2 separate regions of the Homo sapiens genome follow, and region 1 is linked to region 2. The links are contacts of gene promoters, found by promoter capture Hi-C in human tissues and cell types (Jung and others, 2019). All regions are on one chromosome and are shown on one strand. The core of a region is centred on a gene start or on the middle of the fragment in contact, and the rest is flanking DNA. Distances in the headings are between cores, read along the strand shown. Region 1 overlaps ARHGAP17 (Rho GTPase activating protein 17). Region 2 holds the start of TNRC6A (trinucleotide repeat containing adaptor 6A).

The links. The method cuts DNA at HindIII sites, captures the fragments that hold promoters and counts their contacts. A contact is called where the count stands out against the background at its distance.
Region 1: a fragment that was not itself captured here is called in contact with the fragment with the promoter of TNRC6A in region 2 in 1 of the 25 tissues and cell types used here (IMR-90 fibroblasts).

Annotation. Positions count from the first base shown.
Region 1 is chr16:24,938,742-24,941,441 of GRCh38, reverse strand. ARHGAP17 (Rho GTPase activating protein 17) reads left to right here. Exons shown (of 20, transcript NM_001006634.3): 17 at 1,845-2,078. Among named protein-coding and RNA genes, the nearest start is that of ARHGAP17, 75 kb to the left of the region's middle. The HindIII fragment of the contact is 5,425 bases long and covers 1-2,700 here.
Region 2 is chr16:24,728,393-24,731,092 of GRCh38, reverse strand. It overlaps TNRC6A (trinucleotide repeat containing adaptor 6A), which reads right to left and starts at 1,442. Exons shown (of 25, transcript NM_014494.4): 1 at 1,247-1,442; 2 at 793-840. The coding sequence starts at 1,251. RefSeq lists a silencer at 1,104-1,413. The HindIII fragment of the contact is 13,221 bases long and covers 1-2,700 here.

The DNA of each region.
Region 1 (2,700 bases), core at 64-2,563, 210 kb before region 2:
CAGTGTGTCTCTATATACTCTTTTCTATGGGCAATTCATGGGATTTTCAAGGGTGATTAAGACTGTTTGTAATTTGTGCCTTTGGATGCCAACCTGTCCCATGTGTGTGATGAAATGCCACTGTACTCACTAGGAATGCTAACAGTTAAGAGGCCTGTTGGAAGTAATATGCTTTTCTTGGTATATTAAATAATACTACTAGAAATAGTTTTACATTAAAACGAAGTGACAAGCTCTTATTTTAATTGCTCAGTCTTATAGTGAGGTGTGCTGTTTGTTTCTTGTTCTTTGTATTGCATTTTTTACCCCTAGCAAAGGAGAATGCATTATTCTGTCCCTATTCTGTCCTTCCAAAATCCACATTTATTCTATGCAGACGTATTACCTCTCTGAACCCTCATTCATACATTCAGTAGTATTTCCTGATGACAGACTCTACCTGTAACAAAATTAGCTTTCATATATTTTAAGTTACAGAATACAGTGCATGAGTCTAGTTAGCACGTGACAGACAATTCTCAGTTACCTGCCTTGTGTATTCTCCCTGCCAGCTGACCCAGTAAGCACGAGCTCAAGAAGCCAGGTATCTTTTTACTTTTTGAACTGAAAGAAAAAGTTGTTAAGTTCATAGATCAGTCGCCTTAAGTGAAAAGTCAGCCTTCCTTCCACCCTCTCCAGCCACATCCAGCCACCATTCCCTTCCCCAAAGCAACGGCTTTTTCCAGTCTTTTTGGTTTTTGTTTTTTTGAGACAGGGTTATGTGCCCAGGCTAGAGTGCAGTGGTATGATCATGGCTCACAGCAGCCTTGACCTCCTGGGCTCAGGCAGCCCTCCCACCTCACACACCTGACTAGCTGGGACTATAGGCACGCACCACCTCACGCAGCTAATTTTCTAAAAAAATAGTTTTTTGTAGAGACAGGGCCTCACGATGTTTCCCAAGCTGGTCTTGAATTTCCAAGCTAAAGCGATCCTCCCACCTTGTCCTCCCAAAGTGCTAAGATTACAGGTGTGAGCTACCATGCCCAGCTTTTCCAGCCTTATGTACCTTTCACATGTAGTCTGCATATGCACATAGGATTGTTTCTACATCTCATCTCAGTTAAGAGGCAGTGTGGTGTGATAACCTTACACTGCCATTGGTAGGCCTTCTGGACTTGACTTCTGTGTCATTCCCCAAAAACAGATTTGAGATGGGAACTAGGAAGTATGGAAATAGGCCGGATGTGGTGACTTATGCCTGTAATCCCAGCACTTTGAGAGACCAAGGCAGGAGGAATACTTGAGGCCAGGAGTTTGACATCAGCCTGGGCAATGTAGTGAGACCGCATCTCTACAAAAAAAAATTTTTTTTTAGTATCCCAGTATGGTGATGTGTGCCAGTAGTCCAAGCTGCTCCAGAGGCTGAGGCTGGAGGATTGTTTGAGCCCAGGAGTTTGGCACTGTAGTGAGCTATGATTGCTCCACTGGAGTGCCAAGCACTCCAGCCTGGGTGGTGGAGTGAGACCACATGTCTAAAGGGGGAAAAAAACAGCAGAGGAAGTATGGGGATAAACACACTAACATGATGTCATTCAAGATGAGGCCTGCCTATTTGCTTTTAGCTGCTCACACCCAAATTGATCAAAGACATTGAACAGTACCAGGTTCATTGGCTTTGCTCAGGCTTGAAGCCGAGTGGAGTTGCTCAGGGGTGGCCATTAGTCTGGTCCTTGCCGCTTCACTGCATGCCGGGCAGCTTGGGTGGCTATCCCCATGTGTGGTTTTAACACATGTGGACCGATGGGCTTCTGTCTCAGTAGTCTGCTCGCATGGTGTGTTGACTGTTTCTTCTCTCTGTGTAGCTTTGGTGTGAAGCTTATGGACTTCCAGGCCCACCGGCGGGGTGGCACTCTAAATAGAAAGCACATATCCCCCGCTTTCCAGCCGCCACTTCCGCCCACAGATGGCAGCACCGTGGTGCCCGCTGGCCCAGAGCCCCCTCCCCAGAGCTCTAGGGCTGAAAGCAGCTCTGGGGGTGGGACTGTCCCCTCTTCCGCGGGCATACTGGAGCAGGGGCCGAGCCCAGGCGACGGCAGGTAAGGAGGCTGACTTCTGCTGGCAGTGGAGGCTGGACGCCCCAGCCTTCTTGCAGGTGGTGGCCTTTGAGCACGGCATCCATGCCCAAAGAACTGCTCCAGCATGGAGTGAACAGATTTACTTTCACTCCTCTGGTTGGCAAAAGATGGAAAAAAAGACTATGAATGGCTCGCTTCTTTTTATGTTTTCCAAAGAAAGCAACATTGGTTTGCATTCTTTGCCACACTGCTTTGGTGCTGGAAACCGGAAGCCAGTGGATGTCTCATAGTGTGATGAGCCTCTGTCACCTGTTGGATGTATACTGTCAGCATTCATGTACCTTCTGTTCATTGTCATCCAGTGTGCTAACCAGGAAGCATTTGAGTGTGGCAAGTTAGTTAAATTTTCGTATTCCTGGCATTTATTCACCCATTCGTTGATTGATTCAGTGAAACAGATTTACTGAGTCACTGATATGTGCTAGGCACATGAGGTGACTAAGACTCCACTCCACACCCCCAGATTTCAGTCTTGTAGGGCAGTTGATCCATGAGTCCAAGGTGGAAAATAAGATGGTAGCTTTTCTTTTTTCTTTTTTTTTTTTTTTTTTCTGAGACTGCGTCTTGCTCTGTTGCCCAGGCT
Region 2 (2,700 bases), core at 193-2,692:
AATGAATGTGAAAAGGAGTTAAATACAGTACAATTCCTTGATGCTTAAGCAATTACAGCTCAATGAAGCTAAATATTTCCATTCCATAAAGACATCGTTTAAAAAAAAAAAAAAATTCTCCCTTCACGGTGATGCAAAAGCAGCAGGGCCCAACAGGAACGATAACCTCTTCTGGAGAAAAGATTTTTAATTATTTTACCAGCTGATAAAAAGAGCACACACCGAACATGGACAGAAATGGAGTTTCGAAGGAAAACAAAACGCAGCTTATGCTTGGTAAAGTTCAAGGACAAAACTGTGTCCAATGCAACAGAATCCGCCTGACTACAATGTATGGGGGGGGGGGGGGGGCGGGGGGGAATGCGAACACATAGTATCTTTTTATAAAAGCAACAATTTGAGCTACAAAGTAATAACGGGGAAGCCAAAACAGTTTGACAGCCCGCCATAAGGGCCGCCTCAATCATGAGTCACACAATGCCTGCAACCATTTACAATAGTAATTAATGCACAAGTCCCCTAATTAAATTCTAAAAGGGTGAGAATGCTTTAACTAAGTTTACAAGAATTGCTTTGCGCTTTTTTTTTTTTTTTTTAAAGAAAGAAACACACGCGTAATTACGCATCTCCCCGCAATCCCTCCAGTATTCCCCCAGGCCGCTTCTCCCGAATGTCTGCTCTCCGGGTGCGGAAGAAAATGTCACGGGGGAACTTCTCAACCCAGAAAAGGCGAATCGGAGTAGAAATATACGATTATCGTGGGGCGGGAGACGGAAAGCTCGCCCATCTTACCTGCTAAGATTTCTTTCTACGTCTTTGGTAGCTTTAGCTTCCAATTCTCTGAAACAAAAAAACAAAAACAAAAACAAAACAAAAACACACACACAAAAACGAGATGCGCGTGAAAACGGAGCTGCTGCGGCAGAGGCTCGCGCCGGGGCCGGATGGGGGAGGGGAGAGGACGGGGGGAGGGGGACTCACAAAGCTGCGGGGCTGCAGCCCGGACTGCGGTCCCGCGGCGCGGGCGAGGCGCAACCCCGGCCTGGCCCCCGCGGCGCGGCGCAGCGAGGCTCCCCCGGGCCGCCCGCTCGGCCTCCGCAGCAACGCAGCCTGCGCCCTCCCGCCGAGGCCCGAAGTCTCGGGGACGCCCGGCGCCGCCGCCTCTGCTGCCGCCGCCGCGGGTTGCGGGCCCTGCGGCAGCGCCCGCGGCTCCTCCCGCCCGGAGGGAGGCCCTTGTTCCGCTCACCTCATGTGTGTAAAGTGCACGAGCAAGTGGGGCGCGGCGAAGGAGGCTCGCGAGCCTCAAGCCCTCCGCAGCGCCGCGGGGAGAGGCCCGAGCCGCTGCACCAGCGCCATTTTCTACACCGACCCGCTGCCGCCGCCGCCGCCGCCGCCGCCGCCGCCGCCGACACCGCCGCCGCCGCAGGCCCCAGACCGGAAGTGAATGCCCCACTCGGCAACCCCTTCCGGGGGCGCCACGGCCACTGGCCCCCAAGATGGAGGCCCTAGCAACTGGACCCGCAGATTGGGCAGGTCCTTGGCAACCGCCCCGGCGTGTCACGCTGCACCCAGCCGGACCTCCCTGGAGGTCACAGCCTCCGAGGCGCCCCGCGGAGTGGCTGGGGGGGCCTGCGGAGTCCCGAGTCCAACCTTTTTCGGTGCGGCCGGCTCCGGTCTGACCGAGGAGGGGAGTCCCTCCCCTCCTCCTCCTTCTTTGCTGCGACACAAGTTTCCTACCCGCCGCCCGGCCCCTCCCCCACTGACACACGCCAAAAAAAAAAAAAAAAAAAATTGCCTAAAACGCAAATTTTACCCCAACTGCAGCCTGATGAGCCCGCGCGGCTTTTGAATTCAGCCACTTCTAATTATTTTTGACCTTGGGCCAGTTATTTAACCTCTCTGCTTCTCTGTTCCTCCTCAGGTAAAGAATGCATACCTGAGGCGGGTTGTGAGGCTTAAAAGCGATTTTTATCCACCGACCTTTGACTCAGCAGTTCCGCCTGCACGGATTTTCTGCTCAGGAAATAATTCTGGGTATCTGCAAATATTTCACCTTCGAGATACTAAGCTGTGGTATTGATGATGGTGAAAAATTGCAAACAGCCAAAATGTCCAGCGCTACTAGATGGCTTCAAAAACAGCTACTGGCATGTATTAGGACACTGTAAAAATGATGTGGAGGAATAATCCCGGCATGGAGGAAATGGTTGCAATAGAATAAATGAAAAAGCAGGTTCCAACGTAGCTCACACAGTAAGAAACATCTTAGTGTAGACACAGTAAGATACATACATGTAGATAGACTAAGATATGTATATATGTAGACACAGATGCATATGTGTACATTAAAAGTATACATACATACCTACATGTAGATACAATAAGACATACATATCTGCAGGTAGATACAACAATACACATACATGTAGATACAGTAAGATACATATTTTCACTTGCGTGTGTTCTTTCCAACCTCTCATCAAGCTTTTTCTTCTAATTTAAAGATAATTCCTCCTCTGTGCTTAAAATCTATAACCTTTACTTTCTCAGAAACCCCACTCTGTGGATCATCCCATTCTCCTTTTTCTAACCTAAGTTCTTCAACTGGCTTTTTTTTTTATTTTTTTATTATATTATCATTTTTTTTAGGCGGAGTCTCGCTCTGTCTCCCAGGCTGGAGTGCAGTGGCGCGATCTCCGT